Regions from separate parts of the Homo sapiens genome. Here all the other regions are linked to region 2. Evidence: promoter capture Hi-C in 16 types of primary human blood cells and fetal thymus (Javierre and others, 2016). All regions are on one chromosome and are shown on one strand. Each heading gives the region's core, a stretch centred on a gene start or on the middle of the fragment in contact. The rest is flanking DNA. Distances are from core to core; before and after follow the strand shown.

The links. The method cuts DNA at HindIII sites, captures the fragments that hold promoters and counts their contacts. A CHiCAGO score of 5 or more calls a contact.
Region 1: a fragment that was not itself captured here is called in contact with the fragment with the promoter of DNAJC2 in region 2 in 2 of 17 cell types (erythroblasts and megakaryocytes); the score reaches 8.9 in erythroblasts.
Region 3: a fragment that was not itself captured here is called in contact with the fragment with the promoter of DNAJC2 in region 2 in 1 of 17 cell types (erythroblasts); the score reaches 5.9 in erythroblasts.

What each region holds. Positions count from the first base shown.
Region 1 is chr7:103,092,735-103,096,264 of GRCh38, forward strand. The region is part of intron 5 of ARMC10 (armadillo repeat containing 10); the gene reads left to right. Among named protein-coding and RNA genes, the nearest start is that of ARMC10, 19 kb to the left of the region's middle. The HindIII fragment of the contact is 4,149 bases long and covers 1-3,530 here.
Region 2 is chr7:103,343,204-103,346,867 of GRCh38, forward strand. It overlaps DNAJC2 (DnaJ heat shock protein family (Hsp40) member C2), which reads right to left and starts at 1,564. Exons shown (of 17, transcript NM_014377.3): 1 at 1,356-1,564. The coding sequence starts at 1,419. It also overlaps a transcript of PMPCB not described here. RefSeq lists an enhancer at 1,507-1,746. The HindIII fragment of the contact is 5,590 bases long and covers 979-3,664 here.
Region 3 is chr7:103,112,524-103,116,180 of GRCh38, forward strand. NAPEPLD (N-acyl phosphatidylethanolamine phospholipase D) reads right to left here. Exons shown (of 5, transcript NM_001122838.3): 4 at 2,537-2,651. Among named protein-coding and RNA genes, the nearest start is that of NAPEPLD, 35 kb to the right of the region's middle. The HindIII fragment of the contact is 557 bases long and covers 1,732-2,288 here.

The DNA.
Region 1 (3,530 bases), core at 765-3,264, 250 kb before region 2:
GAGGAAGATTTATTAAAAACTCACATGGGCCCAAGAAAGTATATTATTTTTAGTCCCAAATATTCCATTGCAAAATTAACTTTTGAAAACCATCTGTTGTTTCACTTATCAACAGATTCCTGTTCATTTGGTTTTCTGAGAAGCTAGCTTCCCCCCACCAAATATAGGAACATTGTGATTAAAAGGAGTCTGAGTAATAGTAGTGGTTAGTTGAATATTTTGCTTACCTCAGGGTTAACAAATCATTTTTTTGATTCAGTTATTTGTTGAAAAATATTTCTAAAACAACTTTTAAGCTGTAGTAAATGAAGTGAATTGAATATATGAAAGATGTCTCAGTGCTTCACTCTGTCCAGTTAGGTTGATATAAGAGGCAACAGATATTGAGCTGAATTAAGTAGGACCTTAGGAGATGCCCTATAAAAAGTTTCTTAAGTAAATCTCTCATATTAGTGTGCATTCTTATCAATTGCCATTTTTCAAGAAAAAGTAGCATAAAAATAGATTGTAGGCTAATTAAAAGTTCTGATAAGTCGGGTTGATTGTTCATCAAGGCTTTTTACCATGTTAGTCTGTGTTCTCTGGAACAGTTGAGAGACAAATGCATAAGCATTTTAGAAAGACCAAATGTGAAGCCATACTCCAAATATTCAACATCACTGCAGTTATTTTTGAGTTTATCAAGATGTGATTACAGGAGAGTCTTACTGTAGTCCTGCTTTTATGTTTCCAAGGTGTTTGTACATGGACTTTCCTCTTTTCCAATAGCCAAACTTGTTTGGATGTGATCCAAGATGTACCAAAAGGTATTGAAAATTAAATGTAAGAGTAGTCTTCTAGCAATATTGCACCATTCCCAGGCAGTTTCCAACGTGCATCAGCATGTCTGTCTCCAGTGGAACAAGATAACTTCCAGCCCCTGAACCCCTGGGGAAACTCCTTCCCTCTTTACTGTATGTTGTTGCCACTGTAGGAGAAATCTCTCCTCTGCCTGACTCTGCAGCTGCTTTACCCAGAACCTCAGGAGGAACTCTGAGTCCAGAGCCAGGCTGAGTTCAGCCAGGCAAGTCTGGCCTTGGGGCTGTATATATCTGTCTCAGACATCGTCTGTGTTTTCATATATTTTTTGACTTTTTAAAAGATGACCCAGACCACAATAGTATGTTCTATTTTTGTTTTGTTGTGTTGTGTTTTTCCATTACATTGCTTAGTACAGTATTTCTAGGATAGAAAATTTGCTTTCTTGGTCTGCCTTGGAACATACCTACCAATTACAACATTGATTTTCCATAAAAATTGAGTTTAAAGTTCCAACTTGCAAATGAACTTTTGGATAGCCATCCATTTGTTAGTGGGAAAGTGTGTCTGATTTAGGTATTTTCTTAGTAAATAACCACTAAAATGAATGTTTAAATATCGTATTTTGCTTAAGTCAGGGATCTCACTGTACTGTAATAACCGTTTGGGTACACCACTGATTGATAACTTAATGCAGATAGTGGAGGATTAACATAAACTGTGTGCTTGTTACATCCTCAATGAAAACAAAACTAATGGTTTAAAATGTCCTAGTGTCACCACAAGATGGTGCATGTGACGAGGAAAAAAAACATGTCTTAATATGGTTTCAAACCAAAATCCATATATTTGTTTAATCTGTAGTTGTACTCTAACTGTATATATATTTTTTTCTCATATTTAACTCCCTTCTACAAAGAATAGCAACATCAGATTTTAATACAGGATACCAAATAGCTATTGCTGTTGCTATTCCCTGGTTGTATACCTGCCCTCATTGACTATTAGTGGGTCTTAGATTTTGACTTCATCCAGGCTTATTTCGTAAGTTCAGGACCATCCTATTTCATACCTCCTGTTCCTATTTTTCTAATTGAAACTTCATTGACATTGGAGCCAGGTGTTTTTTTCCTAACACTTATTCCTAGTGTTGCTGATAGTCAGTCAGGCCAGATGAGATCTGATAGTGACCTCCACGGAGTGCACTAAAGAAGGGTCAGAAGTCTCCTTTACTCTTTCAACCCCAGAGGCCTTAATTTATTAATAGCATCTCTTTGAAAAAGACAATCTCTGCATATTCAAGAAATGTTACCAGTGGACACTGCTGAGGATTGGAAGGGGCCAAAAGCATGGTGGCTTTTGTTTTTACCTTGTTCTCTTTTGCATTACTTAAAATTTTTATCATGACCAAGTAGTAATTTTCTAAAAATAAAGAAATATTTGATAAAAACAGTAAAATTAAGCAAAGTATTATGTCATCCTCAAATAAATTAGTATCTACAACATGATCAAAGAAATTGTGACTATACAGGATATTTGCATAAAAGACCAAAAAGAAAATACTAAAACTTTTCTTTCTCTTTTTTGACACAGAATCTCACTCTGTTGCCCAGGCTAGATTGCAGTGGCATGATCTCTGCTCACTGCAGCCTTGAGCTTCCAGGCTCAAACAATCCTCCTACCTCAGCCTCCCTGGGACTTTGGTCACATGCCACCACGCCTGGCTGATTTTTGTATTTTTGGTAGAGACGGGGTTTTGCCATGTTGCCCATGTTGCTCTTGAACTCCTGAGCTCAAGTGATCTGCCCACCTTGGCCTCCCAAAGTGCTGGGAATGCAGGCATGCGCCACCGCACCTGGCCAAAAATACCAACACTTAATCGTGATCATTTCTGGTTATGTAAATACGGGTAAATTTTCTTTTTCTTTGTGGTTTTCTATTTTTTTGAAAGTGCTATGGTAAACATCTGTTGCCTTTGTAATAAAAAATTTTTCTAAAATAATATCCAGGTTCCTTCCCAGCTCTAGTGAAGAGCACATTTGTCCCATTTCCCTGAGTTAGTACCCCCCTCTATGCTTATTTTAGTTCCAGGTATCTTGTAGAAAGTATGGTTTCACATGGCCTTTGTTTTTAAAAGACTTGGAACCAACCCGAATGTCCAACAATGATAGACTGGATTAAGAAAATGTGGCACATATACACCATGGAATACTATGCAGCCATAAAAAATGATGAGTTCATGTCCTTTGTAGGGACATGGACAAAATTGGAAATCATCATTCTCAGTAAACTATCGCAAGAACAAAAAACCAAACACTGTATATTCTCACTCATAGGTGGGAATTGAACAATGAGAACACATGGACACAGGAAGGGGAACATCACACTCTGGGGACTGTTGTGGGGTGGGGGGAGGGGGGAGGGATAGCATTGGGAGATATACCTAATGCTAGATGACGAGTTAGTGGGTGCAGTGCACCAGCATGGCACAAGTATACATATGTAACTAACCTGCACATTGTGCACATGTACCCTAAAACTTAAGAATAATAATTAATAAATTAAAAAGAGGCATTCTATTTGAGTCTTGTTATTACTGACTTTTCAGTTATAAGTGATAAGAATGCTGATATTTTAGCTAGTCACCCATTAGATAACATTTATTTGCTTATTATTTATATCATTGCTGGGCATGGTGGCTCATTGCCTGTAATCCTAGTTACTTTGGGAGG
Region 2 (3,664 bases), core at 314-2,813:
TTAGCCAGGCTGGTCTCGAACTGCTGACCTCAGGTGATCCACCTGCCTCGGCCTCCCAAAGTGCTGGGATTATAGACGTGAGCCACCGCACCCAGACAACTCAAACTGTCTTAATTATTAAAATCTTGAATATAGCTCTTAAAAATTTTAAGAATTCACTAACAAGAATTTGTCCTGAAAGCAATTTTCCAAGCAGCAAATGGGAATTTACTAATGCAGCTAAGCTGTAGTGGAACAAGCTCTCAATCTGAAACCAGACACTCTGGGTTTTAGACTAGGTCTGACAGTGGCTATGTGACCTGAAATGAATCAGGATGTCTTCACCTGTAAAATGGGAACAATACCTATTTATCTCATTCAGTTCCTAGGAAGCTTGAATGAGACCACAGAAACTCTCTGAAATTACAAACTTGTAGTAAAGGTATCATCTATTCCTGGGAAGTGGGGGTAAATCACTGTACATGTGTATACTAGCAATTCAAAAAAGGAAAATCCCTGAACAACTTATTTTAAGATTTCCTCCACCTTACACAGGAGAGGATTAAAACACTGTCAAAAAGGTACTACCTGTGTAGTATGGGTGTGTGGCTTTTAAGAACACTGCCTTTTAAGCCTTTTGCTCTAGTTGTAAGAGGCACACGGAGACACATAAATGCAACACGTGCCATGGGTTATGTTCAAAATCACATTCAACAAGCGCCTATGTGACTGGCTATGGGAATTACTGTAGATCACTGGACCTGAAGACTCTTAAGTTTACAATACTCATGACTGTCCTGGGCCATAAAACTAAAACCTACAGCAGCAGGACAAGTTTCACTTGTAATAACTGCCTTTCAAAGTCTACGCGGATCTTTTCAGCAGCACAGTCTTTGAACACCGAGTATGAGGAGCGGTGTCTGAGTTGTGACATTTAAAAAACAAGGCCGGAGCAAACGTAGAGAGGGAGAAAGTTGTTTAAGAGAGCGCCAGTAGCAAAGCTTTGTACGACCCCAGGCACGTGGGGTGCTCGCTGCGCGTAGTCTTTCCACCGTAGGCAAGGAGATGCTTATGAGAACCTTTCTGGGGTGCTGGGGGGTTCCGTCCCGAAATGCTCAGCCCAATCCATGAGTCAGCAGCGGCGAGAGGAGGAAGCAACGGTAGGAGCAAAAGGAAGGCACCCCTCACCCTCCTTCCTTCTAATCTAGGGTAGGATTACTTTAAAACACGGAGCAAAAAGGCACTCGTCACGGCCCCATACGGCCCCGGGGCTAGTCGCCAGGGTCAAGGGTAGAGAGAGCCCAGGGTTGCCGAGGCGGAGGACTGAGGCAGGGGCAGCTGAGGTGAGAAGGAACCGAGGTTGGGTGGGCACTTACCAGAGGTCAGAGCGTGGGTGATGGCGGTGCCCCGGCCGTCCGCGGCGCTTGGCAGAAGCAGCATGATGGCGCCGGGTCTAGCCCGGTGGGCGCAGCGGCTCACGTCCCGGGCGGAGGGCGCTTAGGGTCCCCTCCAGCTCTACCTCTCACTCCGAGCCTCGCGCCTTGGCTCTAAGACGCCCAGGAACCGGCGCATGGAGACGACCAGTAAGCACTTCCGGGATGGATCTTTCGTGGTGTGGAGGCCAGTCTCACACCCTCCCACCCCCGCCAACGTGTGCGGTAACCTAGTTCTATACTGACTGAGATCCGGCTGGAGACCAAGTCGCACGAGAGAATGGTTCCTAGGCGCATCAGTTTTCCTGTAAAAAGGATTATATTCCACGTCCCAGTGCAATACATAGAACATAACCTTTAAAAGCAGTTCTTTTTATATTATCTTTAAGTTCTTACTGCTTTATGTATTAATCTGAACCTAATCAGTGATTTTCCCAGGAGCGCTATACTTTTAAGTAAAAAATGAAAATACCTGTATGAACCAGTATCGACGACTAGTATATACATTTGCGGAGAATTACGTACGTGTATTTGTGATACATTTGTGTTTAACTTGATGATGATAATAGCAGCTAATATTTGTCGTGCTATTACTAATTTACCTGCATTATATCTTTTAATACTCGCTTGGAGAAGAAACCTCTCTCTAGTGTGTTAGATTGTATTCCAAGGCCAGCAATATTTTTACCTTGTTCTAATGAAGTTTTTATTCAAGATATTCCCAATTATAGGACTCTGGGACTTAATTTTTTAATGTATAATAAAATCAATTGTATTCCTACTATATGCTTCCTTCTAAGACTGCAGTCAAAAGCAAAAACTAGCAAAAACAAACAGTGGGTAAAGGCTCACCCCCAACAGCAGTATCTGAAACAGGTTCAATAAAATAAACTTGATATGCCACTCTTTAGCAAGGACCACCAGAAATTAGTAAATTAGAAAATAACTTACTAATTTCATTATATTTTCACAATTAAAGTTTTTAAATATATTATATATATATATATGTATATTTTTTTTTGTAGAGACAGGGTCTCACTATGTTGCCCAAGGTGGTCTTGAACTCCTGGCCTCAAGGGATCCTCCTGCCTCAGTCTCCCAAAACTCTGGGATTAGAGGCGTGAGTCACTGTGCCAGGCCAATTAAATACATTTAATTGGTCTGTATATCTGCTGCATGATAAAATTGTCACTTCAAAACTGACTTTTCAAAAATTGAACTAAGGGAGGCTGAGGTGGGAAGATCGTTGAGGCCGGGAGGTGGAGGTTGCAGTGAGCTGAGATCACACCATTGCGCTCCAGCCTGGGTAACAGTGAGACCCCGTCTTTAAAAAAAAAAAAATTGAACTAATCTTCTGCCCCAAAACCTCTTCCTGATCCCTACTAATGCAACCACTGTTAAAACATGCTCCAAGGTGCAAAGTAACCTGACTCCACTTTCTTCATATTAATATATTTTTTTCCTCACACCTCCTCCCATTCAATTTTACCATTAACTCTAACATGGGTTTTTGTTTTTTTGTTGTTTTCTTTTCTGAGACAGAGGCTTGCTCTGTCGCCCAGGCTGGAGTGCAGTGGCCTGATTTCGGCTCACTGCAATCTCTGCCTCCCAGGTTCAAGCGATTCTCCTGCCTCAGCCTCCCGAGTAGCTGGGATTACAGGTGCGTGCCACCACGCCCAGCTAATTTCTGTATTTGTAGTAGAGACGGGGTTTAGCCATGTTGGCCAGGCTGGTCTCCAACTCCTGACCTCATGATCTGCCTGCTTCAGCCTCCCAAAGTGCTGGAATTACAGGGGTGAGCCACGGTGCCCGGTCGGGGGTTTTGTTTTTTAAAAAAATTGTGCTAAAACACACATAACATGAAATTTACGATCTTCACCGTTTTTAAGTTTACAGTAATGTTAAGTACATTCACATTATTGTGTAACCACCCTACAAAACTATTTTTATCTTACAAAACTGAAACTCTATACCCATTTAATCTCTTACAAAACTGAAACTATGCCAGTGGAAAAAACTGTCCACTGGAAACCATCCTTCTACTTTGTCTTTAGGAATTTGACACCTCTAGGTACTTCATATTTGTGGAATCATATAGTATTTGTCTTTTTTGTGACTGACTTATTCACTTAGCATAATGTCTTCAAGGTTCATCTGTGTTGTAGCTTATACTAGAATTTCATTCCTTTTTAAGGCTGAATAATGTGTGTGTGTGTGTGTGTGTGTGTGTGTGTGTGTGAGCGCGCATGCGT
Region 3 (3,657 bases), core at 760-3,259, 230 kb before region 2:
GTTCTCACTCATAAGTGGGAGTTGAACAATGAGAACACATGGACACAGAGAGGGGAACATCACACATTGGGGCCTGTCAGGGGGTGGGGGGCTACGGGAGGGATAGCATTAGGAGAAATACCTAATGTAGATGAAGGGTTGATGGGTGCAGCAAACCACCATGGCACGTGTATACCTATGTAACAAACCTGTATGTTCTGCACATGTATCCCAGAACTTAAAGTATAATAAAAAAAAAAAGAAGTAAAGGGTAACATATCCTCTCTGAAGATTATATCTGCTTTATAATTCAACTAACTCATAGTTATGAGGTTTATTCAACATCAAAACATGAACAAATTCCAAAATGCTGAAAGTCAAATGAGTTTTTATTAACATTCTCATTAAGAAATAAAGATGGCGGTTAGGTTTATAACAGGAATAATTCTTGAAGGCTGAATAACACAATAATTCTCAAAGACAGGATTTTTTAATCCTCTCTCATCTTCCCCATCTCAGTAAAGAGCACAACTGTCTAACCAGCTATTGAAGCTAAAAATCTAGGAGTCAACCTTGATTCCTTTCTTTGCATAGGTTTAATAAAATACCATTACTTCATCTAAGTCCCATATATATGGAATATACATAATGGAATATGTGCATACACGCACACATATATAGATGGAATAAGAAATTGTCACTGAAAACCAGTCTTAAACTTCTCCCTTCTCCAAATACGCACCCACACACCCACATTTATATTCTCATTTATCCTCCCCACAACCCTATGGTTAGTCATTATTCTATTCCTTCTCCCAACAGTGGCCAAGAATTGCTGCATTGTGGCTCAGGGTTGCTGCCTCATGGCACAGGAATTTTGATTAGGGAGTGGGGGAATGGGCAGGCAGTGTATTAGGTAATTTTGGAACACACTGCATCTTTGGGAGAGGGCAGGCCATAAGTGAGACAGAGGAGTAACTAAAACTGCAAGAAAACACTGAGTTCCTGCAGAGAGGCTCTGGGATGTGGAAGATGCCACAGAAAGTAAAGAAGCCAAGTCCTAACCACACTTTTTTTTTTTTTAAAGACAGAGTCTCACTTTTTTTTTTAAGACAGAGTCTCACTTTTTTTTTTTTTTTTTTTCTCAAGACAGAGTTTCGCTCTTTCACCCAGGCTGGAAGGAAGTGCCGTAATCTCGGCTCACTGCAACCTCTGTCTCCCAGGTTCAAGTTATTCTCCTGCCTCAGGCTCCCGAGTAGCTGGAATTATAGGCGCCTGCCACCACGCCCAGCTAATTTTATTAGAGATGGGTTTTCATCATGTTGGCCAGGCTGGTCTCGAACTCCTGACCTCAGGTGATCCACCCGCCTCAGACTCCCAAAGTGCTGGGATTACAGGTGTGAGCCACAGGTGCCCAGCCAAATCTCACTCTTTTGCCCAGGCTGGAGTATAGTGGCACAATCTCGACTTACTGCAACCTCTACTTCCTGGGTTCAGGCGATTCTCCTGCCTCAGCCTCCCGAGTAGCTGGGATTACAGGCACGCACCACCACGCCTGGCTATTTTGTATTTTTAGTAGAGACGGGGTTTCGCCATGTTGGCCAGGCTGGTCTCGAACTCCTGACCTCAAGTGATCCACCTGCCTCAGCCTCCCAAAGTGCTGGGATTACAGGTGTGAGCCACTGCACTGGGCCTAACCATACATTTCTAAGTTTTGTTTAGAGAAGACCTTGGATCCAGGAAAGGAGAGAAAGCTTTATACTATCCTCTGCTTGATCCCAGGACCCAGGCTAGTGGCAGAGTTCTAGGGTCCATCTGCCTTAAGGAAAAATTATCTCTTCTGTTTTAATCTAGGAATAAAATCACATTTATCCCTATGCCTGGCACATAGCAGACACCGAGTCAATGTTTACTGAATATATTTCTAGAAAGTTCCACACTAGCCTTACTTCTCCCTATTGCCCTCCACTCTCCTGCTGAACTGATTCAAGTACTCCCCACACTAGCTGCCTCCGAGCCTATGCTCTGCCCTTTCCTCCTCTGAAAATGCCTTCCTCCCTGCCCTCTCAGAGCCAAGTTCAAATGTCACTTATTCCATCACGCCCTCTCTGATCCCTGCCATCAGCAAACATCCTGATTCTGAGACCATCTCATCTGTTCCACATTACAGCACTTTCCCCTTCTAACATCTGTATCACATACATGACTTCTGTCTTCTGCTAGCATGAGAGCCTGCTTGAGGGGTGAGACATGATGGCTTGCTTTTCTAGTCTCCAGACCACATACAGATTTTTGGTTATACAAATACAAGCTTTACTAACTTCAGAAATAAGCCAAAAGAAAACACAATGAGGTTGTGTTGTTTTTTTTTTCTGACTGTATATGTGTGTATTGTTCTACTAATTAGTATGATTTACCACCCTAATTCATGCAGTGACTGTGATGACTGTGCAGTATCTGATTCCAGAGTCTTGGGTCTGAAAACTAAGGAACAGTGATGCCTGAATCCTATCATTGGTCAAACACACAAAGTTATTTTTATCGCAATCAAACTTACCTCATTTGCTAAGGCAAAAGTTCCCCAGTGAATTGCCATAGATTTCTTTGTTTGGACATCAGTGTGAATCCTTACAGCTTCTTCTGGGTCTACATGCTGGTATTTCATAAACCACCTGAAGAAACATGGCAATTTCTTAATTCTGACCTTTGAGATATACACTAAATTCTAAAATCTGTTTCACTTAACCAAACTTTAAGATTCTGCGCAGGACTATGGATGTTGAGAATTAAGAACCACTGGGATAAAACATGCAGTTTTGGGGAGGATGAGCTAGAAACCAAGTCTGAAGGCCAGGTCAAGGCTAGATTGTAAAAACAAAACAAATTCTGCACAGGAATTAAGTCACAGGAGGCAAAACCATCTCCCTTTGGTACACTTTCTGCTGAAAAATAAAACAAGCAAAAGTCTTTCTTGTACAAATTGCTATAAAATAAGTAAGTCTCAAGCAAACTCCCCTCTGAATAGTGAGATTTTTGTTTCACGTATATTTTGATTTTACTGGATCTATCTGAAGATACAACTTACTGATGATGCAGGGGAGGCGAGCCCCAAAATTGAGGCTTAGCCCAGGAGGGTTTTTGGCCTCACAAACGAAATATAATTCAACGGCAAGCCAGTGGTGCTGGCCAGCAATTTTTTTTAAACGATACTGCTCCTTGAGGAGCAGTGCTAAGTTATAGGCAGTAAGTGCACTCAGAGTTGGCAACATATGAGGGGTTGGTAACTGTATTTACACTCACTTATACCCACTTTTAATTATATGTAAATTAGGGAATGGGTTAATGCAAATTAAAGGGCAGATTATTTAGAACTTTCTAGGAATGGGGTGGTAACTTCTTGGTCATTGCCATGGAAAGGGGCAGTAACTTCTAGGTTGTTGCCATGGCCATTTATAAACTGTCATGGTGATGGTGGGAGAGTCTTAGGCTAATGAGCAATGAGGGCAGCTAGGGATCACTTCTGTCACCATCTGCTGGTTTTTGCCAGTTTTTTCTTTTTTTCTTTTTTTTTTTTTCTGAGATTGAGTCTCACTCTGTCGCCCAGGCTAGAGTGCAGTGCCGCGATCCCAGCTCACTGCAACCTCCGCCTCCTGGGTTCAAGTGATTCTTCTGCTTCAA